Linked DNA regions of Homo sapiens: all the other regions are linked to region 3. Evidence: promoter capture Hi-C in 16 types of primary human blood cells and fetal thymus (Javierre and others, 2016). All regions are on one chromosome and are shown on one strand. The core of a region is centred on a gene start or on the middle of the fragment in contact, and the rest is flanking DNA. Distances in the headings are between cores, read along the strand shown. Region 1 overlaps GPC5 (glypican 5). Region 2 overlaps GPC5 (glypican 5). Region 3 holds the start of GPR180 (G protein-coupled receptor 180). Region 4 overlaps GPC5 (glypican 5).

Evidence for each region. The method cuts DNA at HindIII sites, captures the fragments that hold promoters and counts their contacts. A CHiCAGO score of 5 or more calls a contact.
Region 1: a fragment that was not itself captured here is called in contact with the fragment with the promoter of GPR180 in region 3 in 1 of 17 cell types (M0 macrophages); the score reaches 5.5 in M0 macrophages.
Region 2: a contact is called between a fragment that was not itself captured here and the fragment with the promoter of GPR180 in region 3, in 1 of 17 cell types (total B cells). The highest score is 5.1, in total B cells.
Region 4: a contact is called between a fragment that was not itself captured here and the fragment with the promoter of GPR180 in region 3, in 1 of 17 cell types (M0 macrophages). The highest score is 8.4, in M0 macrophages.

The regions. Positions count from the first base shown.
Region 1 is chr13:92,173,941-92,180,628 of GRCh38, forward strand. The region is part of intron 7 of GPC5 (glypican 5); the gene reads left to right. It also overlaps the pseudogene FABP5P4. Among named protein-coding and RNA genes, the nearest start is that of GPC5-AS2, 170 kb to the right of the region's middle. The HindIII fragment of the contact is 367 bases long and covers 3,700-4,066 here.
Region 2 is chr13:92,196,003-92,202,501 of GRCh38, forward strand. The region is part of intron 7 of GPC5 (glypican 5); the gene reads left to right. Among named protein-coding and RNA genes, the nearest start is that of GPC5-AS2, 150 kb to the right of the region's middle. The HindIII fragment of the contact is 166 bases long and covers 3,911-4,076 here.
Region 3 is chr13:94,597,784-94,604,108 of GRCh38, forward strand. GPR180 (G protein-coupled receptor 180) reads left to right here and starts at 4,074. Exons shown (of 9, transcript NM_180989.6): 1 at 4,074-4,289. The coding sequence starts at 4,145. RefSeq lists an enhancer at 3,812-4,106 and a silencer at 3,885-4,484. The HindIII fragment of the contact is 8,659 bases long and covers 1,567-6,325 here.
Region 4 is chr13:92,152,154-92,158,604 of GRCh38, forward strand. All of the region lies in intron 7 of GPC5 (glypican 5), which reads left to right. Among named protein-coding and RNA genes, the nearest start is that of GPC5-AS2, 200 kb to the right of the region's middle. The HindIII fragment of the contact is 246 bases long and covers 3,878-4,123 here.

The DNA.
Region 1 (6,688 bases), core at 2,633-5,132, 2.4 Mb before region 3:
CTAAAAATACAAAAATTAGTTGGGTGTGGTGGCACCCACCTGTAGTCCCAGCTACTGAGGAAGTTGAGGTGGGAGGATCACTTGAGTCCAGGAGACAGAGGTTTCAGTGAGCCAAGGTGAAACCACTGCACTCTAGCCTGGGTGACTGAGTGAGAGACCCCGTCAAAAAGAAAGGAAAAGAAAAGACATCTTTGGATATTCTTAGGCTTGCTGATAAAAGTCATCTTTACGTCATTAAAAAAATATGTGTCTATGTATATTTATTTCATGTATATATTAAATAGAAAGGCCAAAATTTGGGCCGGGTGTGGTGGCTCACACCTGTGATTCCAGCGCTTTGGGAGGCCGAGACAGGTGGATCACGAGGTCAGGAAATTGAGACCATCCTGGCTAACACGGTGAAACCCTGTCTCTACTAAAAACACAAAAAAAAAAACAAAAAAAAATGGCCGGGTGTGGTGGCGGGCATCTGTATTCCCAGCTACTCGGGAGGCTGAGGCAGGAGAACCGCGTGAACCCGGGAGGCGGGGCTTGCAGTGCGCAGAGATCGCACCACTGCATTCCAGCCTAGGCGACAGAGCGAGATTCCAACTCAAAGAAAAAAAAAAAACAAAAACAACAACAACAACAAAAAAAACAAAATTTAAATAACTCATTACTTCATTCATACATTTATCCACCTATACACTTCTTTACTTAAAAACAGCAAAAAGTATTAATCACTTTATTGAGCACCTTGCTGGGCATCAGGAATAAAAAACAGATTAGTCAAAAATACGGTTCTATTCCTCAAGGTTAAAATAGTGTGCAGAAGAAAAAACAAATAGCGATGTCATAGAATTTAAAATGTTATCGTAAAGTGCAGAGTACCATTAAAATAACACACTGTGAGACTTCGAAAAGTCCTCCCTTGAACCTTCATTTTTGAGACAGAGTTTCGCTCTTATAGCCCAGGCTGGAGTGCAGTGGCCCCTTCTCAGCTCATCGCAACCTCTGCCTTCTGGGTTCAAGCGATTCTCCTGTCTCAGCCTCCCGAGTAGCTGGGGTTACAGGGATGCGCCACCACGTCCTGCTAAATTTTTTTGTAGTTTTAGTAGAGACGGGGTTTCTCCATGTTGGTCAGGCTGTTCTCAAACTCCCGACCTCAGGTGATCAACCCGCCTTGGCCACCCAAAGTGCTGGGATTACAGGCGTGAGCCACTGTGCCTGGCCGAACTTTGATTTTTTCATTAGAATTTCTGGAAACATTATTTTATTATATGTTGGCATATTAGTGAAACATATATTTATTAACCTGTTTTCAGATTTAATGGTGACCCTGTATGTTTGTTTCTGTTTATCGATATCTAGCTATAGTTATGTTTACATCTATACCATATTTTGTATCTATACATATATAAAAGCATCTAAATAGGGCTTGACACCTAATTGGAATTCAATAAGTGTTTGCTTCTTTTCTGATTCTAGATTATGTCAAAATTTAGTAGTGCGTTCTAATAAAGTTGAAGAACATTTGAATAGGAGGTTATGATGACATCACTGTGATGCCTACTGCTGTAGTCCAGCTATCTAAGAGCTGAATTGCTTTCAGTTTTATCTGCGGTTCTAAAGTTGGTGGGCGCCCCTTTGGAAACGTTTACTGAACTCTTGGTACAGAGGCCACTAGATGGGGCTTGTGGGCTTAGTACTTTATAGTTTAGAAAAGTCACTTAAAAAAACTCAGACTTCTCTTTAACCTATTCTGTTCTTTATTAACTGTAACACTGTGAGCAATTATAATTAGAAATCTTTTTATATTAGCAAGTGTGAAACCTAACTATTGCCCTTGCAAATATGTGATATTCCTCAAAGAAAAAAAAAACATCTCCCTACAGCCAGGCACATTTATCTCTTTAGAGGCTAAATACAAGACCCCGTTACCAATTTAATAGTAGTTTTCAAACCTGTCTCCTCATATAGAAGAATCTCAGATACAGAATCCTGGAAGCTCTGTTCCTACTTTTTAGGTTTCAGATTCAATGGTGACTCTGTATGTTTGTTTCCATTTATCTATATCTAGCCAGAAACATGCTTTACCATTATCATGAAGTTTGCTCCTTACCCATTGCTAGTGTTTGTTTTCCTCTAAGACAGTGGTTCTCAAATTTTAATGTGCATCAGAATCACCATATATCGTGAAGGACTTTAGAAAATACAAATTACTGTCCACAACCCCAGAATTTCTAATTCAGTAAGTCTAGGATGGAGCCGGTGACTCTGAATTACCAAAAAATGCTCAGATGATGATGGCACTGCTTATCCAGAGACTACACCTTAAGGAGTTCTGTTGTATGCTAAGGCTCTCCCTGGATAAAGTACATACCTTTCATGAGGTAGCCCTTGTGTCTCAAGACAGCTTCCTGTCACACTGCAACATTCATCTCTCCAGGCACTGAGACTGGGACAAGGACGAGAAGTAAGTGGTGGTTTGTGTTTTCTTTGCATTTATGCTCCTAACCACTGGGTACACAGCACACTAAGTTAGATAAGGTTCAACCTCAACAACAGACCAGGGGCACCTGTCTGCATCTTCTAACAACCAATAGCTAATGCTCATTTGAAAAAAAATAAATGAAGGGTTTGACCCAAGGCATCAAAGCTTTGGATTCTGATTTTCCTTTGTCTCAATGGCTTTTAGATTTCTAAGACCTCCCTTTCCGTTTCTCTCCATCTGACCTCCAACCTTCCCCAGATTCCTAATCCCACCATTTTTGAACCTCCCTCCAGAGTGCCTGGAGCTAGGCCCAGTGGTTCCTCACCTCAACGGCCACATCCAAGCACTTCTCAGCCCCTAGTTTACTGATTTCCAGCACACTACCAGGCACCACTTTACCTTTACTGGAGACCTAGGTATACACTGCTTCTTTACATACTGTATCTACAGCTGGATAATTCAATTCTCCATCTATTTATCCCTTCATCAGTCATTAACTACCAATGATATAACAGGCACTGCTTCACCCTGCCACTATGCTATAGTTGTAAACAAGCCAGACATGACCTCCCATCTTTTGCTATTTCCGTCATTGTTTTGACTGATCTATCTTTTTGGATTTTGGATACCCTTATTTCCATCATTGTTTTGATTGATCTGCCTTTTTGGATTTTGGATACCCGTTGTTGTCACCAGCTTGTTGTTTTGCATCTCAGTTAACTTCTTGGCTTACAGACCCCTGGCTTCTGAAAACCACAAGCTTTCTGGCTTTTACACGGCATCTCAACTTGTATCAGAACATGTTGTTTTCTAGCCCCTTAAGCCAGTCTAGCCTCTGGCAACCTGAGCATCTTCCCCTTGTCTGACTTTCATCATATCTGCTGGGCTTCTGCATCTTCACTGTTAATGTAATGACAATGCCTTAAATTATGTGGATTATATTTTCAAAGGTGTGTTAGCGTATCCCATCTCACTTTCCTTATTTCAAATGATTAACCTATCTTGATGGAAAGTTGATCTTTCCAATGATTTCAAATATGTACCTTCATATAATTTTTATATTTTTATAATTATACAAATTACTTACATCTCAACCTTATAAAGCTCTTTTTTGCTCTTTTATATTCTAATAACAGAATAGCCACTAGTATGTTTTTTGTGTTCTTCAGAATAACCTAGATCAGATATGCACAGTCTCTGATTAAAATGATTTCTTGCATCCCAGAAGCTTCTGTATTATGTCAGCAAAATTGTGTTTATTTCACAGGCTCTGTCTGATAAATATTTTTTGTGGTCTTCATGTGACAACACTGAATAACATGCCTAAACTCAGCCTCCTCTTTTAAACATTCCTACCTTGAGAAGACTAGTGACAGAATAGCATCCACAGTACTATTTAGTTTAAATTAATTACAACAAAGCTCAACGAAAATTGGCTTCGATATACCATTATTTTTCTATTTTCTTTCAGTTCAGGCATTATATATAATTAAAGATGCCCCAGTATTCTACTTGCAGAAGTCATTTGCTAATGAAGGGGAAGATTACTGGGAATAGCATAAAAAGTTCAAACCACCAATAAACATTTCTGGAAGCTTGGAGCTGAAAGACTGAAACTATTCTGGCACATGGAAGTTTTACCAAGCTCTTAACCTAATTATATTCCTGATACGAGTTAGGCTCAATTTATTCCGAAGGGATGCCGCAAAGGGAAGCTTATCATGAATACTAAGGGTAATAGAAACAATTGCTTCAGTGAGCCTAGTACTGTCACAGCAGGCGCATCAGAACAGATGGCTCTGCGTTTATTCCAGTCTAGGGATTCAAATTGGCAGTAGTCAAACAAAAATCCTGAAAAGCATGTCAGCAGATGTGGATATGAGTTTTCTTTATTTAAAGAGCCATTCATACCATTCCACTGAAAATGCATATAAAACTGGAGGTATTTGCCACTTTGGTTAATTTGCCTATTAGTGCCTTCAACTTGTGGCCCATCATTTTAATATATATATTTATATATAACATATATACATATATACCAGCAGTATAGTAATTTCTGATATATACTATTAACCTCAAGTTACTATATATATACTATTATTAAATTTTTGTATAGTGTTTGTATATTATATATTTATATGCCAGCTCCTTAAAATGTGTTAATATTATATATCAACAGTTGCTAATTCCTTACATTAATATATGCTATTTTGCATCTTTTGAGTCCAAACTGCTACCAGCATAGGAATTTTAACATTTTCTTTAAAAATAAACTAGTTTAGCCTGGGCACGGTGGCTCACACCTGTAATCCCAGCACTTTGGGAAGCCAAGGTGGGCAGATCACAAGGTCAGGAGATCAAGACCATCCTGGTTAACATGGTGAAACCCCGTCTCTACTAAAAATACAAAAAATTAGCCAGGTGTGGTGGCCCTGTAGTCCCAGCTACTCAGGAGGCTGAAGCAGGAGAATCGCTTGAACCCAGGAGGTGGAGGTTGCAGTGAGCCAAGATTGCACCTCTGTACTCCAGACTGGGTGACAGAGCGGGACCCTGTCTCAAAAAATAAATGAATAAATAAATAAACTAGTTTATTGTATTTTTAATAAAGTATCCTAACGTAGACTATTAGGATTCTTCATGACACCTGAAATGTATTGTCATCAAATGACTACACTTGTTCATTAGCATCTTTTTCTCCTTGCACAATGAGTAATTAATAGTTTCTTTGGGAGTTAAGTAAAAACGAACTGACATTTTTGGGCCAAGAATCCTAAATTAGCTCTGGGGTAAAACAAAAACTCTTACATACTCCTCACCACCTAAAAAAATTTTCAATTAAAAGGAAAAAAATAAAGGATAATATCCTGGTTTATAATCTTGTCAAACTGGAACTATTTCCAGATGAGCATGGCCCTCTTTTTCTTTTACAGATGACACAGCTAAGTGCAGATGCCTAAAAGGAAGGGTTTCTGATGACTTTGTTTTCTCAAGATATTTACATAGTCTGAGCTTACTCATGAATTGTGTTACCATGTTAGGTTCAACAGCTAGGCTCTGACTGAACTAATTTGTCGTGGTCTCTCTGTCCACAAGAGTTTGTCAAAGTAACAACTCACTATGCTATTGAACTAATAACTTGGTCACAGTGTATCTTTTAACACCTAGAATTCTCTCATCAATGAGTAGGCATAGCACTTGCTCATAATCTTCGTAGGCTACTTCTAGCTAAATGATAGATTACTTATACTATAATGTTATATTGCCGAATCTAACATACAAGAAAAATATTCAGGGCCTAGTGGCTTTTTTCAGTTTCATTATATGCTTTTAAAACTTTGATGATTTATATGATCATAGAACTTTCTGTTCTGGCACATGGGAAGATTGAATTTTTTAAAGCAAAGTATTTGTACAGATTAAACAGATAACATTTGACATCATAAAAGGATAATGAAAACGTATAGGTGAATTAACTGAACTTTAGATGGGGAAAGATATCAGCCTAAATTTAAACAAAATTTTATGAATATGATTTACTACGGTTTTTACTGTGGACAAACAATGTAGACTATGGACTTCGGTTTGAGTCACAAGACAGGCACAATGGATTCCACTAATCTCTCAGTTGTGGTGGAATAAACTACTATAACAAATATGCTCAAATGTTTATTTTTTAGCATTCAAGGCAGGTCTTCTTAATTGGCAGTTTTTCTCCATGTGGTGGTCCAGGATACCCAGCTTATGCATGAAAACTGCAGGTTTGGTTGAAAAGTCCCCACAGTTAACCTGATTTATACCACAGGGCTAAATTCCTTTTGTTTAAGGCTGCAGTTTAAATTAGCTTTTTAATTTCATTTCCAATTGTTGGGTTTCTGCACAAGAAATTCCATAATCTTTAAAGCTGCATTTTAACAAATGGGAAAATAATATCCAATAAAACAAAAGAAAATTGGAAATAAGATATCACAACAACAATTTAAGCTGGATTTTCTCTTTGTGAATGTGTATGTATTTGTGGAAATAAAGAGCAGAAGTAAATTCTCCAAATGTCAACAGTGGTCACCTTTAAGTATTATGGTTATGGGTGATTTTTTTTATTAGTACAAACACATTTATTCATTAACCAAAGGGATGATCCTAATTAATCCAACACTTTGAAATAGCTGCATGTAAAATGTTTGTGATAAAGATCACTGAACACAGTAATGAAAAGAA
Region 2 (6,499 bases), core at 2,744-5,243, 2.4 Mb before region 3:
TCAGGGTCTGAAAGAGAGCCAGTTGAGGCAGGCGCTCAGGGCAAAGTGGAAGCACAGCGGAAAACTAATTAAAGTTAATTTTGCTTTTCATTAATATTATCTTCAAAATTTACATTTCTATGTGTAATATTTATTGGGAAAAAAGATGTATCCCCTTGAAAAAAAAGTAATGCTACATGATATGCTAACAATGAAGTACTAAGTATCTATATAAAATAGTTTGAAAACTTTGAAAAATTAATATCAATTTTACAGCCATTTATGCTGATAGCACCTGATATTTTATAAGATTTAATTAGACAGATTATGTTTTATTTTAAAGGTATGTACTTCTTACACAGGAATATGAATAGAAATAAAGATTTCTATGTACAAAGGCACTTAATACATATATTTAATATCTATTTTAAATTTTAATTGAAATGGTTTTTTAAGAGGGAAAAGTCTAGGTTTCATTAGCTTTTTATTGTTCTATATTTAATCAGCCCTAAAATATAATTACAGCCCTAGAATATAATTACTGTCAAATGAAAGCTTTATTATAATCTAACTGGCCCCACTAAAAATTTTAGTCATGAAGTCTCAGAGAAATTTCACTTTTGTTTGTAAAACTTTTCCTATGGCCCCTCTGTTCACAATCCAAAGGCAACATTTCTCTAGCTGCTCAGCTATTCTGTTTTCTGCTTTCTAACATGCCAACATCAAAAGCTGTAACTCTGCCCTTTTCTCTTCGTATCCATGTCAGACGCAGGGTAACTGGGAGAGCTTTCAATATCAACAGCAGCTCATCTTACTGATAAACAGGCGCAGACAGAAGCAGATGGTTTCTAGGCACAGAAAGCAGTGGGTGAAAGTGGTACACTCCCGTTTCTATCTTCAGAGAGTGTAAAATATTTTATCCTGAATGACATGCTCCTAAGTTAAAATAATATTTATTTGGGTAGGCCTGCTATACAGGAAATGTTAAGATACCGAAAACGGTACACTGGAAACAATATGAATCGTGCAACAAAAGCGAGTGAACTCTGAAGATGAGGGAAGTGAGTCGCACCACAGACAGCAGTGGGGGATAGCAACTCTAACAAAGTCTCCGCTCCTGCGAAGAGCTCATTCAAGCACCTCCCTTTTAAAGGGTATTCCTAATACCCTTTGGAAGTTTCTTCTTCCCTTCACTCACAATTTCCCTTCTCTGAGGTTCCAAGGATGTGAAAAAAAAATAATAAGATAAAAACCCCCAGACCATAAATTTTCTTACAGACTTCATATAGAGGGATATATGATAGATACAGATATAAATAATATTGACATAAATAAGTGTATCTACATCCGTCTATATCTATAGAACGTCTATACCTATCTATATCTTTATAACTATATTGATCGCTGTAGGTAGATCTAGATATCAGGAAGTAAAAGGGAAGCTGGAAAATATGATTTATATACAAAGATTAAATCTTTGCTCAAATCACTTGAAGGGCAAACCACATATATTTTTTCCTATTGGGGTTTGTTTGAGACAGGGTCTCGCTTTTTCTCCCAGGATGGAGTGTGGTGGTACAACCTCAGCTCATGGCAGCCTCAACCCCCAAGGCTCAAGAGATCCTCCCATCTCTTCCTCCCAAGTAGCCTGAACTTTAGGGCATCGCCATCACATCTGGCTAATTTTTTTTTTTTTTTGTATTTTTGTATTTTTGCTAGAGATGGGGCTTTGCCATGTTTCCCAGACTGGTCTCGAACTCCTGGGCTTAAGCGATCCACCTGCCTCAGCCTCCCAAAGTCCTAGGATTACAGGCATGAGTCACCGAGCCAGGCACCCCATATGTCTTAAGATAAAATCCAGATGTCTTACTGCTTCCCAAACAACTCCGTATGATACCCTACTTCCACCTCTACCACTCTGAGTCATTGCATGCCAACAGTAGTACATTGCAGCCATGTGGGCCTTCTTTTGATTCCCAACATGCCAAAAAAATCCTTGCCTCAAAGTCCTTGCACTTGTTATTTTCCTATTCCTGGAATTCATGTGCCTGACTCTGGACCTGAGGCTTCTTATCTTCTCAGTCTAAAGTCAAATATCACCTTCTCTGAGGAATCATTTCTGACTTTATCTGAATAATTCAGCCATCCCCCAATATCATAGCATCCTATTATTTTACATCAGAGAAATTATCCCAATCTAAAAATGTCTTGTTACATGTTTGTCTATATATTACCTATTTGTATATGATATGTCTCTCCACACTAAAATGCTACCTTCATGAGAACAGCATCCTTACTGGTGCTACATTCCTCTATATCCTTTAACCTAGGATGGAGCCTGTTACTAAGAGATGTCCAATAAAAATTTCTTCTGTTGATAGGTTGGTTGATACCTCATTGACAGATCATAGATATGCTCCTTATTAATTAATAATACTTCTTTCTTAATGAATGATGATTTCCCCACAGCATTCTAAAGTCCAAATTGATGACTTATAGTTCAGATATTTGAATGACCAAATTAGCTCAAATATTATTCTTGCTTCCATCATGAATGTGGATTAATGTGGACTGATGTGGATTAAATGTAGGCAGACTGGCAGTGAGTAAAGTCAGGATGTAGACACATTGCTCCCGTCAAGACTGATGTCAAGAGGAAATCACCAGCTGTCTAGCCTTTGAAGCCAATGGGAAGATTACTTATTGACCTGATACATTTTCACTTCTGATTCAGAGTGGGCATTCGTACAATCTTTGCAAGTAAATTATAGCTATAAAAGGATCCCCAAAAAAATTATTTCTGACAATTTGGGGAGAGTAGGTCACATCTCTATCTCAGAAACCGAGAAATGGTCATATACTAAAATGAGAAGGAAAATGGTGAGTCTGAACCAGGTCTTATTCCATTAATTCCATACTCAAATTGAGACACCATAGAGATAGCAGACACACAGATGATAAGTATTTTTCATAAGCAATATTGATTTTTGTATTTCATTTTTAAAAGTGCTTAGCATTCAGAGGAAGCCAAAAAATACTGTTTGATACTCTTCTATGGAAAAATAATTTGCCACTAACTGACACATCAATGCTACATCAAAGGAAATTACAGAGCGCTCAGTAGTACTAAAGCTAGGGCATGAGGCCCATTTAGAATTGGATTTTTGTTGCCACATAGGTTATTACTTCTGTAAAACATGCATATGTGATCATCGTTTGGTTAGGGAGCAGAAAATAATATTTGAAAAGTGCATTTTTCTGTTTTACTGCACGGACCTGTGTCTTTCAGTCTCCACAATCAGCAACTTCTAGCCTGACCCACTCAATATAAAAAGATATGTAAAATATCTGCGGGTTTAACTTATTCCAAAATCACCCCTTATTTAAGTTGGATGCAAAATTAACAAATTAATAGACTTTTCATTTAATTCCAAAATATAAATGTCTCCAGTTATAGAAAATGGTTAATTCTCAATATTTGAGATAAAATTGAATAATAAAAAAAGATATTTTCTTTCATAAAAATTTAAAGTAGGTTCCATCATTGTTGGAAATAAAATATTGACTTGAAATACTGTCTACTTTCAATTAGACTGTAATTACAAAGAGAACATTGGTCATTATTTTTACACTTTGTATGTTTGGCTATTTTATAGGCAAATATTAAAGGCCCAATATTCCAACACTACTAAAGAAATATTAGAATTGGATCTATCCTGGGACTGTCTTCTGTCCACGCAAGAGACTTGCCCCTTTGAAATAAACCAAAAAAGCATTGAAGTTTTATTTTAAAATTCAGGCAGAAATGTTGACACTGCCTGTATCAATTTAAACACAATTTTTTTTAAAAAAAGCCACAAGAAATCCCTCTAGACTGCTGTATATAACATCGTGTCTCAGGAATTTCTTTGAGAAAATAGGTACAGGTAAAAGCTTGCAATATACATTTTTTAAAATAAAACTTTAGAGCAAGCTGAGGATTACCTGGATTTTGTTAGTATGTCATGCTGAAAAACACTTATACTTACCTAAGTCTTTGCTCAATGTATTTTCATTGAGAATATGAAGCACAGCCATTCTAACTTTAAATTTGGCCAAGCTTTGTTTTGATTATGTAAGAACATACCAGGAAAGGATGACTGTGTACTTTGAATTCATCTTAATTTTCTTTCTTTTATATTTCCCTTTTTCCAAGTGCCAAATAAAATTTTTCTCACGTTTTCTTTTAAAACATGAGTTCAGAATAAAATTAAGAGGAAAAAAATCAATCTCAATGAGTGTTTTATTCACATCTATGAACGCTATTGTGCTCTTACTTGATGTGACTAAGTGACATTTGCTGTCAAACAAAACAATTACGGCTGTATTACCCTTAATCATAAACATTTGCTAAGCACACATTTGTTTTTCAGTAACTGTGTTAGCCAGAGCTCTTTTGGTGGTAAATGCAAGACATTCAACTCGAATGTACTTAAGCAAAACAGGTAATTATTTGGCTCACATAAAACTATACAAGGCCTCAATAAGAGGAACTAGAAAATTATAACAGTTGAGATTCTCCCTACCTCTCATTTTCTGTTATGTTCCAAACAAATTATCTCAGACTGTTTTTTGACAAGGTTAAAAGCATGATTTCAGACATTATCAGTGCTTATATCCTCATACCTATCTAAAAATTCCAGCTTTCAGCTTCATTTTGTAAAACCATGGGGGAGTTTCCAACTGGATTCGATTGGATCATGTGCCCAAAGCTAGACCAATTATTGTAGCTAAAGAATTAGGTACAATGATTGGACGAGCCCTGGTCAGGTGGCATCATTAAATCAAAAACTGTAACTGTGGAGTTAGCTTCACGGGAAAAGATGCTGGCTCCTGTTGTGACCTCAGGGTCGGAGTATGAGAAGTGTATCTAAACTGAAGAATTCAGGACACATTTCCCAGAATAAATTGGAGGAGTGTAGGGAGAGCAACAGACAGACACACAGGCACTCAGACACACACACACACACACACACACACACACACACACGCACACACACGGGAGGTTACGCCTTCTCTCTCTTCCTATTCTTTCATCTTCCCTATCATTAAGGATATACTGAACGTCATCATCTCTGGACTTTAGTGAATGCCAATGGTAAAGATCTGATATTGTTTAGGTTATTCATGATCTTTATTCTGTAAAAGTCTGAGATGCCATTATTTATGCCTTTCACTCTTGAAGAGAAGATATTAATGTTATGGACAAAGATGTAAACTTTACATAAAATGATGGATGAGATGGTTGAAAATGGTATTTCATCAGTTCTAAGTTACAACAGTGACACTTGGTTAAATCTAATATTTGATACATTGCTGTTGGCCGAGGAGCAGCCATGGCACATTGTCACTTCAATTGATGTGCATGGTTGATACTACAAGTGTTGGGTTCAACTGTCATAGAAGATATCTTTAAAACAGGTTACACTATGGTTCAGCATGAAAACAAAAAAATACATATTGTCTTCACAGAAAGTTTCTAGAACACAGCAGTGATGCATGCATTTGATATTCCTGAAGCAAATATTTAGCATCTGAAGAATGAACTCCATTCCATTTTTTTTTCTTTTGGAACAAAACCCAAGTGTTTTAGAAGACCTAAGATAGTAGGATTCCCACAAGTTGATGAAGCTATGCTAGGTTACTGATTCAGGTACAATGCAACTACAGGTGGGGGAGATTGCTAGATGTCTTGAAAGAGACAAAAGAAATTAAAGAACACAAGAATATTGAATGACTAAATTATGTAGAATTAGTATTAAGATAGCATGTGAAACCTTGCCAGGAATTTTCTTTAGTGTACATAAAGCAATAATACATCTGACAATTGATGGAGTCTTTGATGTCAACAAAATACAGTAATAAGGGAAATTGATTTTTACTTCATGGAAGTTACTTTGGCAACATTGTGAAGTAGCAGGATTGTTACAATAGTAATCAGATTACTTAAATTTTAATCCTTGGTGCTATCACCAACTAATTGTGCTGTCTAAGGAAAGTCAATTAAATACTTAGGTCTTCATTTACACTATAAAGATTTTGGACTATAGATTATGTCAGAAGTCAGTCTCAAACATTAAGTGACATGATTCTAGATGAACTAAAGAATGTAAAAATGTTTTATTATTCATTTTAAGAATGATGGTTTGAAAATACTGTAACTGTAGCTTGGTCATTAGTAATTTTCAGAGGCCAGTGTAATATTTTTACTTTCAGTTCTGGAATAATGTATCTAGATCACATACCTAATGTTTCCAGTTGAGATAGATTTAGCATGCAGAACAGGCTATGTTTTGTGTTTTTCTTAACCTTCAAAGTGTTTGTTATTTTGATTAGTGTTTATACATTCAGACAGATTAGTGAGGCAATAAATAGGAGTAAATGCTAAAGGACAGCTAATCAAGTGAGTGAGAAGCAAATAGCCACTTACTATAGACTACGGTTATAATTCAAAAGCATGTGAAGCATTATCATTTTGATG
Region 3 (6,325 bases), core at 2,824-5,323:
ATTCTATGACCCCCTCAAATTCCATGATGTATAATATAGATAATTGTTCATTGCTGTATTGCTTGCAATAATGAAACACTGGAAATAATCTAAATGTGTATAATGTCTTCTAACTTTTAAAATGCAGTAAACTGCTATATAGCCTTTAAAAAGAATATACCAACATGGAATGAAGACCAAAATATATTGCAGTCGATACGTACAGTTTTTTTCTGACCAGACTCCTCCCCCCACTGTCCTTTATGATCTCCCCAAGTTGACCCAGGCAGGCCACAGAATGAAATCTGGCTGACTCTAGGCCAACTGAAGCCTCTTCTTGGGATTTAGAATTCGACTAAGGTGCTAGTATAGTCTGGTTACTCTACTTGAACTCTGAGGTCCTACAAAGCTGGAACTTTTTGGTGGCCATGTTCTTTCAAAGTGAGGAGCCAGAAAGCCTGTCTTCACAGTGAGAAAAACAAAGTTGATTGAGAAGAAAGAAAAGATAGGAAAGGCCTAACATTCAAGGCCTGTGTTATGATTTCTCTTCAGGACCAGTTTTATTCCTGTCCTTGGTTTACAAATACCACATATATTTGTGGTATTTGTAATACCACATATATTTGTGGTATTTGTGGCTTACTTGAAAGGATTGACCCTAAACTCTTAAAATAAGTTACCTTTAGGGATGAGATATGGGCAGGGAAAGGAGGAAATGGGGAGTTTAATTTTTACTTTATATACTTTTGTTTTTTTGAGACAGTCTCGCTCTGTTGCCCAGCCTGGAGTGCAGTGCCACAATCTTGACTCACTGCAACCTCTGCTTCCCAGGTTCAAGCGATTCTCCCATCTCAGCCTCCAAGTAGCTGGGATTACAGGCGCATGCTACCACACCTGGCTAGTTTTTGTATTTTTAGTAGAGATGAGTTTTCACCATGTTGGCCAGGCTGGTCTTGAACTCCTGACCTCAGGTGATCCACCCACCTCACTTCCCAAAGTGCTGGGATTACAGACGTGAGCCACTGCGCCCAGCCCACTTTATATACTTTTGACTGTGAATTTTTTTCTGAGACACATGGATTACTTGCATAATAAAGAATCCTTGCAGTTTTTTTTTTTTTTTTTTTTTTTTTTTTTGAGACGGAGTCTCGCTCTGTCGCCCAGGCCGGACTGCGGACTGCAGTGGCGCAATCTCGGCTCACTGCAAGCTCCGCTTCCCGGGTTCACGCCATTCTCCTGCCTCAGCCTCCCCAGTAGCTGGGACTACAGGCGCCCGCCACCGCGCCCGGCTAATTTTTTGTATTTTTAGTAGAGACGGGGTTTCACCTTGTTAGCCAGGATGGTCTCGATCTCCTGACCTCATGATCCACCCGCCTTGGCCTCCCAAAGTGCTGGGATTACAGGCGTGAGCCACCGCGCCCGGCCGCAGTTTTTTTTTAAAAAATCCGAAAATATTAATACTTCCAGCATATTCCTGGTCAGCCAGAAATACTGAAAATGCTGTGTATATGGTAGGAGGTGGTTCCTCAATATTTTTTTTTTCTAAATGATGAGGTCTGTTATGAGAACTTCCTTATATGTTATAGAAGCTTGTTGTTAAATGAAAATAATTTATATACATTTATTCATGAAATAATTTTGAGCTCCTACTTTTGTTACCAGTGGAGGGTCTTGACTGCAAGTTGTCCAGTTTCTTGGCATTTTGAACAAAGAATTGGACAAAATGCACAGCAAAGCAAGGCAAGAATGAAGCAACAAAAGAATGAAGCAACGAAAGAACGAAAGCAGGGATTTATTGAAAATGAAAGTACATGGCCGGGCGTGATGGCTCACACCTGTAATCCCAGCACTTTGGGAGGCCAAGGTGGGTGGATCTCTTGAGGTCAGGAGTTCGAGACCAGCCTGGTCGACATAGTGAAACCCCGTCTCTGCTAAAAATCCAAAATTAGCCAGGTGTGGTGGTGTGCACCTGTAATTCCAGCTGGAAGCTGAGGCAGGAGAATCACTTGAACCTGGGAGGCGGAGGTTGCAGTGAGCCGAGATTGTGCCACTGCACTCCAGCCTGAGTGACAGAGTGATACTCTGTCTCAAAAAAAGAAAATGCAACTACACAGCGCAGAAGGGCCTGGACACATAATCATCTTGGGTCCAAATACTCCCTAGAAGTTTCCCATTGGCCACTTGGAGCTCACCTCATATAAATGAAGTGGTGGCCCCCAATAGGTCTGATTCTTGGGGAAAGCAATGAATCAGAGGCTGAAGTGGAGTTACAAAGGTCACACTCCTGTGCAAACATCTGATTGGTTGCAAAAAGCAATGTTACAGAGTTACAAAGTTGCACTTCTATGCAAACGAAGACTCAGCTGGCAATCAGTCTGACTGGGTAGGGACAGCCAATTTCTTATCTGCCTCACAGAAAAGGTGGGGATTTGCAAAGGGCATAGCCTCTGGTCCTTTTGTTACTTAGGGTGGAAAGTTAGGGTTTTCCTTTAATAGTTCTAGAAAGTCGGTGTAAAAACGCCTTAGGTTCCCTCACCCCAGGCCCTATTCTCCTGCCTCACTTTCATTAAGACAGGTATAGCCAGCAAGGTGGCTTACGCCTGTAATCCCAGCACTTTGGGAGGCCAAGGCGGGCAGATCACCTGAGGTCGGGAGTTTGGGACCAGTCTGATCAACATGGAGAAATCCCATCTCTACTAAAAATAAAAAATTAGTCGGGCATGGTGGCGCATGCCTGCAGTCCCAGCTTCTCGGGAGGCTGAGGTGGGATAATCGCTTGAATCCGGGAGGCAGAGGTTGAGGTGAGCCGAGATCGCGCCATTGCACTCCAGTCTGAGCAACAAGAGTGAAACTCCGTCTCAAAAAAAAAAAAAGTGTAGTCACTGACCAGCTGGAGCTGACAATAGAGGCGGAGATTTCAGACACATGAATGGATACTTACAGTACAGTGCGTGAGTGCTCTGGTAGGGAAGTAAGGGATTCTGGTTCCAGGGGCATCTACTACAGACTTAGGGGTTTGAGAAAGGCTTCTTAAAGTGCCTTGGGAAGGAGGAGTAAAGGAGGAAAAGGAAGGTGAGGAGGTCCAGTGTTGGAATAAGCAGAAGTATTCTAGCCAGAGGGATCAGGGAGTGATATAGGCCTAGAAGGGAGAACTTGGGAGTGTTCAGGAAACCAACGGCGGTAAGGATGGAGATGAGAAAAAACAGACATTTGAGAGTTGAAGAGCCATATTCTAGAGTTTGGGTTGTGTGCTAAAGGCAATTGAGAACCTTTCAAGGCAAGTGCAGCAAATTGTTTCCTACAGCTTTCTGTGGCTGTAGGGTAGAGATGGATTGTAGCCAATTAGAATGAAGACTGTAGAGACGGTCTTTGCCATAGGCCAACAAAGTGATGAACTGAGTAGGACTGTGGCCGCTGCTTCCCACCCTCACCAGAAGAAGGGCTAATCCACACTTGTTATTGAATTGATTGAATTGCGGGGGGGGGGGGGCCTACAATTCCCAGCGGTCTGGTCTGCGGGCGGGGGTGGGGGTGGGGGTAATGTAATTCGAGAAGCCAGAGAACCTAGGAGGGAAAAATCGGCTGGAGATGCCAAGAGAAGGCATGCGTTAAATTGTGGTCATGCGGAGCTAAGTGTCTTTGAGACATTAAATCGGACACGTCCTGTAGGTTATACAGGCGCCAAGGAAGAAAATCTGCATAAGAACACAGTTTTTTCTTTGCGGGAGTTTAACTCTCTCGGCCAGAAACAGTCCTGTCCTGCATTTCTTAAGTTTTTTCCGAATCCCACAAGCCCTTCGAAGGCCCCGCGGACTCGTGCCAGCGCGCCCGCGCATGCTCAGTAGCAAGACGTGCTAGGCAATGAGGAGGGAGATGAGTTTTCCGTAACCTGAAGCAACATCCTCCTGATTCCTCATTAAAGAAAAAGGCGGGAACTAGTCAAAAGCCGGGGACTGATGGGACGCTAGGATCTGCGCGTCCCGCCCATTTCGGCCTCTGACTGGTGAATGTCTTCGGCTTATGGCAGAGGAGCCCGCCTCATTGGCTCTCAGGCTCCAGAGCAGCAGGTCTCCGGCGCCCACCCCGCCTCCCCCAGCTGCCGACGTGGGGCGGGCAGCCGCCGGCGGCTGGGAGCCGAGGCGTCGGTGCAGACCTGGAGACGGGCATGGGGGGGCTGCGGCTGCTGGCTGTGGCCCTCACGTGCTGCTGGTGGCCGCAGGGCAGCCAGGGTAAGACCCTGCGGGGCAGCTTCAGCAGCACCGCGGCCCAGGACGCCCAGGGCCAGCGCATCGGCCACTTCGAGTTCCATGGTAGGTCTGGGGGCGGGGAGGGGGATGAAGGCGCGCTGGCCCATCCCGCCGGCTGAGTCCGCCGGCCGCTCCTCCCGGCCCCTCCCTGCCACGTTGGGCGAGGCCGGCGACTTCCCCAGCCTCACCTGGACCTCCAGCGTTGCAGCAGCTGCCGCGAATGGTGGGATGCGTTCCTTGCCAACCCCGCTGGTGCGGCTTTCCAGCCCCAGGCAGCGGCCTCTCGCCACTAGTGATCGTGTTCCGCACCTGAAAGCTGGTTTCCATTTCCCCAACCCTCCCCTTGGAAGCCAATGTGCAAAAGACTGGTCGGCCGCATCTTTCCAGATCCTTCCCGCAAAGAAGCATATTTGCTCCTTCCTGTCTCGGCCACACTGTGACGGGAGAATTTAACCCTAGAAACTTAAATTTCCTTTTTTTTTTTTTTTTTTTTAAAGACCAATTTCCTGAGACCTACTTGCAACAGAGTGGTTTTGGAAACCAAGTAAAACACTTGATAATGTAGTTGTTATATTGAGCAGTTTGGTTACTTGGCTACTAGGGCAGTAGATTTACTATGGGCAGTAAGGCCTAGAATTAAGCTGATGAAAATGCATTTAAGTAGCATCTTGGAAGCTCCCTAATTTGTGTTCTGTGTGGCTCTTCTGAAATCAGAGTTGCGTTTGATTTCAGACCTTTTGGTCTTCCTCAAAAATCAGTAATTATTCCTTCAATAAATGCATTTGCAATTCATTCTAATTTTGGTCTCATTTGCACTCTCACAATTTAAGTGTTTTTCTTGGTACTCTTAATTTGACTAGTGCTGTATTTCAAATAATTATTTGCCTTGATGACATTAGGAACTTTGATTTGTACAGTCTTTAGCATTAAAAGATGCAACGATGAACATCAGAATATTGGCCTAGAAAATATTGTTAGGAGAAGATAATAGAAACGGAACTACTTTGGTGAGAAAAGGAATTTAAAGTATTGGGAAATTACAGAATTGACAGAATAAAGGGAAGGGATCCTGATTTTTTTTTTTTTTGAAGTTTTTAAGATAGCTAAGAAAAGGAGTTTCAGTAACCCAGTTTTTCAAAATCCAATGTGGAATATATTTTGGGTGAATGAAGAAGAAACACTAGAAACAATTTTATTATTTTTTGTAACATTTTGAGTTTCTCATTCAACGGACTGTAACCATACTTTGAGTATTGACAGCCACTGTCTTAAATGGCACAATGTGGACAGTGTTGGAAAATGTGGGATGTATAGAAGACGTGGGTTATTACTTAGGACCAGCAGAGAGACTTGGACGACCTCATAGTTCCTGATGATCATCTGGTAAACGTGGAGGAGAAACATGTACTAAATTCAGATTTCTCAAGACAGATTGGGGATAAGGTGTTTCAAGTGCGTTCATTCTGTTTCATATGTGTAAAATCACATATAGTTATTACCAATTTTCATGAATCCCAATTCAGTAAAATAATAATACAAAAACTATACTGAAACAATGAACTGTAACTCGGAATGCAATTTACAGTGTCAATTGGGCCTCAGAGTCACTTGTAAGACTTCAAAATATGTAATCAATTTATGTAAGAGACTTGCACATTCTTTGATATATATACTGTATATTTAAATATATTTAAAATGTTTAATCAAAGTGGTAATTATAGTAATAAAAGCATAGAAAAAAAATTTCCAGGAGAATAGAAGATCTTAAAATGAAAAACAGTCTCCTGTCTTAGCTCTTTCACCCAGAATCCCTTTCCCTAGAGGCAATAACTTACTGCCATTTCTGTTCTGGGCCTTAAATGTAGTTGGTGTGTGCAACCAGGTTCATTCTGTATTCATCTTACAACATATATTATTCTGAAAGTTCTTTTTTTTTAAAAAGGAAGCCAGACTCGTTGGGTGGCTCCTGCCTGTAATCCCACCACTTTGGGAGGCAGAGGTGGGCAGATCACTTGAGGTCAGGAGTTCAATACCAACCTGGTGGCTGGGCGTGGTGGCTCACACCTGTAATCCCAGCACTTTGGGAGGCTGAGGTGGGT
Region 4 (6,451 bases), core at 2,751-5,250, 2.4 Mb before region 3:
GAGTTTGTATTTAATTTGCTGGGCAAAGAGGAATGATTAAAGCTCTTCTATGTGGTCATTTTGTTTGTGCATTCATTTTTACCAGCAATATAGTGAACTACTTAAGATTAAAAAATACACACAATAAAATTAGTATATCTTGAACAAGTAACTTCTCTCCTACCTTGTACAAGTTCTGTGCCTAGATTTCCTTAAGACCTGAATAAAAGCAGGACTCTTCAAGTGATTTTTTTGTGAAGATTAAGTGGTTTAATCCATAGTCAGCATTCCAAGAGTGTCTACCCAACTCACACCTGTCCATTGAAATAAAAGTATTGGATAAAATATGTAAAAGGTAGTTTTTTAAAAATGCTTCTATAAATTAGTAATAAAGGAATGTTTGATAAAATTGGGCTAACATGGTGAAACCCTGGCTCTACTAAAAAAATACAAAAAATTAGCCGGGTGTCGTGGCGGGCGCCTGTAGCCCCAGCTACTCAGGAGACTGAGGCAGGAGAATGGTGTGAACCCGGGAGGCCGAGCTTGCAGTGAGCCCAGATCGCACCACTGCATTCCAGCCTGGGCGACAGAGTGAGACTCCATCTCAAAAAAAAAAAAAAAAAAATTGGGCAAAGTACAGGCAGAGGCACAGATAGTGGTAGATACAGTTATACACACACATAATTTAAGGAAAATAATATAGTTGTACCTAACCCTCCACCGAGTCCAAGAAATACAACATTTCCATGGCCCTATAGGCCCCTCTCTGAACACATTTCACTGAACAGAGAGTTTGCCTATCCTGACCATAACTTTTATAAAAAATACAGTTTTAACCAACAGTATGTGCATGCTTAAATAATACTTGTTTTTTCTGGTTTTTGAATTTTATATGAATCAAATCATACAGTCTCTCTTGTCTTGTTACTCCTTTTGTTAAACAGTGTGGTTTTGAGGCTTATCCATGCTGATGGATATAGGTGTACTCATTTAATTTCTCTTTTGCTTTCTTTCTTTTTTTTGAGACTGAGTCTCTGTCACCTAGGCTGGAGTGCAGTGGCGCAATCTCAGCTCACTGCAACTTCCGCCTCCTGGGTTCAATTCTCATGCCTCAGCCTCCAGAGTAGCTAGGATTACAGGCATGTGCTACCACACCCAGCTAATTTTTGGGTTTTTTGTACTTTTAGTAGAGACAGGGTTTCACCGTGTTGGCTAGGCTGGTTTCAAACTCCTGACCTCAAGTGATCCACCTGCCTCAGCCTCCCAAAGTGCTGGGATTACAAGCATGAGCCACCATACCCAGCCTTCATTTCCTTTTACCAAAGTATAGTATTCTAATTTATGAATACATAACTCATTTATGTATGTATTTTGTTGATGAATATTGGAGTTGATGTCAATCAGTGGCATTTGGTACGATATGAACAATGTTGTTCTAAACCATCTGGAAAGTATCTCTTGATATACATGTGCAAGAGGATGCAGGATATCTTAGAAGTAGCAGGGCAGTGCCACAAAACAAAAGATTATGTACAGCTCTACTAGGTATGTGAGCCTGCTTTGCAAAGCAATTGTACCAATTCATATTCTCACTAGAAATGATGACAGTTTCTACTGCTCCCCATCTTTGTAGACACTTTTCTTCACGTTCACTGATTTTTCATATTCATCTAAAGGATAGAAGTAAAACAAGTAATTAACTTCTATTTCCCTCATAATTAATTGGATTTCACTTTTTAAACAAGTATATGACAAATTTTTGCTTCCTTATCTGAAATTTCAGAAGAAAGAAATTTAGCCCCTTCCCCAGTATTACTTTGTTTTTGTATTGTTGTAAAGAAGTATCTAAGGCTGGATAATTTATGAAGTAAGGAGGTTCATTTTGGCTCAAGTTTCTGCAGGCTGTGTGAGAAGCCTGGTGCAAACATCTGCTTAGCTCCTGGTGAGGCCTCAGGAGGCTTACAAACTGGTGGGAGACAAAGGGAGTGCCAGTGTATCACATGGAGAGAGAGGATGGGAGCAGGTGCCACATTCTTTTAAACAACCAGATCTCTCATGCATTCAGAGCTAGAATTTACTCATTATCATATGGAGGGCACCAAGCCATTCATGAGGAATCCTTCCCCATGACCCAAACACCTCCCACCAGGCCCCAGCTCCAACACTAGGGATCACATTTCAACATGAGATTCCAACCTCCAAACTATGTCACCCCTTTCTATCAGGTTATTACTTTTTTCTTTGGCAGATACTATCAATACAAAAGTCAATTTCAGTGATCCATTACTTCTTTTGGTTGTGACCTCAGGAAGGGAAGGATAGATTCTTGAATTTTTCTTTATTGAACCAGTTTTCAAGATAATAAATTGATTCCCTCCCTTTCTCAGAAGATGACCAATTCTTTTATATACATTTAAATGTCATCATGAACCCAGTTTTAAAAACATTTGTAATTCTTATTTTTACTGAAGTTCTTACTGTCTCACATTTTGCCAGCTGGTACCTTTTCCATTTGCCTTTGAGTCCTTTGAGATGACCCTTAAAATACTTACTAGTTTCTTTGCCATCTGGTATACTTAGATGTACTAAGCTCAGCTTATCCATTGTCACAAACCTGGAATGAGCCATTTTTACATGAGACTTTATTTGTTTTACTGGGAAATGTCATTTCATGACTGCAATCTGAGCACTAATGATGGCTCTTAGAAGCATAGGTGATAATTAAAATATTTCATAATTTCTCACTTTATTCCACATTAAATATAACACATTATCTGAATAATACTAAAACTGCCCTTACGCATTATGATTACTAAAATTAGCTAAACATTTTTGTATGTATTGTCTATTTTCTCTCCCCATTCTATGGTTATACTAGAGATACAGAGATAGTGTCAGGTCACATATCATATCTGCCACTTAGCTCTTATTTATTGTAACTATATAATGCTCACTATTTGCTTTTATATCAATATCTCTCTAGTGTATTCCTTATAAAGGACTCATGGGGACAATATTTTACGAGTTCTTTTATGGTGATGAGACTTTGTGTCCTTTAGTCTTAAAAATTAATTTTGTTCAATACAAAAATGTTAGTTAGCTCACATGTTCTTTCCTTCCATTTTTTTTCAATAAGCTCTGCATTTTCTGGTAGAATGCATTAGTGGCAAAAATTATAATGATAATCTGTTTTTCTTTCCATTATTAGCCACTTGCTTTTCTCCCCTCAGTGCACAATGATTTGTTTTCTGTTTCTTTAAAGTACAGCAATTTTACTAGAATGTATTTTGTGTTGGTAGCTCTGAGTTGGTATTCCAGTTGCATAGTGTACTTTTTCAATATGTAATTTTAAATATTTTTCTAGGAGGCTTTTATTGAATTATGGTTTTAATAATTTGTTATCTTCTTTTAACTTTCTTCCTCAGGAGCACCTATTTTTCGTTTGTTGAATTTTCTTTATCTTCAGCTTTTTCCTCAACCTTTTTGATCTTCGCTCAAATTCTTTTGGATTGGAAAAATTCACCTCTTTACCTTCTGTTTCTCTTAAGATATTATTAGTGGTGCTTTTTTGCTTTTGCATTTCTGCACATTGTATTTATTTTTGAAGGAATTTACATTCTTCTATTTTTTTGAGATCTCTAACTTCTTTCCTGAAATTTTCTAATTCTAGTTTATTTCTTTGTGTCTTGTATCCCATGCTTACTGCCTTTTAGCTCGCTTTGAAGTGCTATATCTCATTTTAGTCTGTTTTTGAACATCTTGATTGTGTGCTTACTATGTTTGCAGAGATCATAACAGAATATGCAATATTTATGGTGATAAATTTTTGTGAGATTTGATCTCAAAACATTTGTTGCTTATTTTATGTTAATATAAATTCCCTTCATTTTTAGAATAAAGCTTTGTTTCAATAGCTTTTCTAAATCTACTGAGTTTCCTGTTCTGTTCTCGTCATGTAGTGTCAAAAAATATGGTGGCTTGTTTTCTAAAATTTCTGGTCTTTTTCTCTCCCCAGTGATTATTCATATCTTCTCTTCTTAACTTTCTGTTATTCTTATCTCACTATTTTTTTTCCACTTTCAGCAGTTACTCTTGTATGTGGAATCCCCTCATCCTGAATGGTAAGAAAACTTGGCAGATTTTAAGCTTCAAGAGTTCAGCAGGTTTCAGAGACTTTATTTCCTTTAGCCTTATAACAGAGCCCTTGCATCCACCCATTATTAGTGTGGGCATAAATGTTCACAGTTCTCTGCTGTTTTCACATTGATTTTCAATAAATCCTGTGGGTTCTGTTGTTTTCATGGCTTTAACTTGCTGCATTGCTTCCCTCTGTTTCTTCTGCACACATGCTGATAGTGTGTAGATTGACCATTGGTGGTGTGCTCTCTCTCATTTCTGCTTTGAGGTTAATGAGGATGACATTTTGACTGAGTTTTGTTTTATTTAATTGGCAAAAACCATAATTACTTTTGCACCAGTCTAATAAATGGTATCCATGTGATTTTAATTTTGCTATCAAGTTAGTCTTTTCATTTTATGTAAGGATTTCTGAATGTCCCAAAGCTATGTTGCAACCACCACTGCTATCTTACGTGAATTTCCCAATCATTTTCATTTTATAAGTAAATAAAATATAGCATAATAGATGACACCTTGATGCTCTTCCTTTTTGATCCTTTCCCCCTGATTTACATATATATGTGTGTTTATATATTGTAATTATATAGAATTACTATTTTTAATATTAATATTAAACAGCAGTGTTTTTAAAATGTATATGCCTCCAATTTGTCTTTCTGCTGATAAAATAGACTTTATTATAATTGATGTATGAATATACCACAATGTATTATCTATTATTTCCAATTTTAATGAACAATGCTACAAGCAAGCCTCTCTGTGCATGAGTATGTATTCCATTAGGTTGCAAAACTAATCTTCAAAGTGATTATATTAATTCATACTTGCACCAGCACTCCAAGTAGACTATTTTTGGATTTGTACCATAATTTCATATCCTCAGAGTTTTTAATTTTGCTGAATTTTTAAAATGTAAATGGTAAATATCTTTGTGTATATGAAAGAAATTGCAACAGATGGAATGAAATAGGCAAGGAAGATGTTCATTATTCAAGATGATTACAGTAGGGGAAAGAGAGAGAACTCTCCACTGAACCAAAAGATGAGATAGTTTTATGCACCTGGGAGAGCTAGTGAAAAAGTATTTGGCCGGTCTTAGGAGTGAGCTTGGTCAATGTGATTAGGTCATATGTGTTTGCTAATTGGTATTTATGAAAGTTAGGCTGCTTCCCTGACATAGAGACTGGGAGATAGGGGTTCTGTCTTGATGACTACATCTCATAAAGATGGCTCCTTGAAAAAGAGAATCCTGGCTTTTGAAACAGGCAAGAAACTGGAAGATTTAAATCTCAAATGGGAAGAGAAAGAATTTACAATTACAAATGTTCTAAAGTAAGTGCATTAAGAAAAAGAAGTTAGGGGCTTATGTTAGGAAGAAACATGTTTAAAATTTAGTCAACATAAAGGAAATGCAAAAACTGATTCTGGTGAGGTTTATCGTTATTTTTTGTTTAATGACCATTTTGTGTTTCCTCTTTTGTGAATTTATTCCCCTCCCCTTTTCATATTTTATCACTTGGTTGAGTTAAACTATCTCATTATATACCTAACTAGTATTTTCTCAGCATATGAGTTGTGAGAAATCTCACTGTTTCTGGTGTGACTTTTAAAGATGTATCCCAGCTATATACTCATAAATTACAGTCTAGAAAGGGAAATAGGTATATCAGTAAATACATTAAAATGAACTGTAAAAAATACATAAAATTGAGAAATATGAGGAATAAAGAATACATAAATAGTAGAGAATGATCCATTATATGGGGATTTTCTTAAGAATATCATCTTAGAAATTATAGCTGAGCTGGGTTTCAATAGAGGACCAAAGATAATCAGATGGAGAGTGGACTAAAATTCATGACAGACAAAGCATTTACCAAAGTACAGATGTTTCAAGTATCAGTGTTTTCAGGGAAGCTCAATGTTTGCACTCTTCCTGGAGCACCACTTTTGAGGAAGGAATGATAGACGAGGCTGAGAAAGCAGTTGGTGGCCTCTACAATGCAGAAGCCTATATATACAGTTGTCCTATAGAGCCGTTTAGACTTATTCTGAAAAGAATGGATTTATTCAACTGAAAAATCTACAAAGGAAAATTCATACATTCAAAACACAATGCCCAAATAATACAAGAAGTTCCAGTGATGTTTAGATAACAGTTAGCTCTAGGTCTTCATTCAATACGTCTAAAAATAAACCTGTCAACTTTCCTCTCAATTCTTTTCAGTTGTTCCTTTTTTTTTTTCTTCTGACAACACTATGACTCACCATCCTCCAAGACAGAAACTCAGGAGTCATCTTGTGTTCCTCCTCTCCCTTCACGCCCCGCATT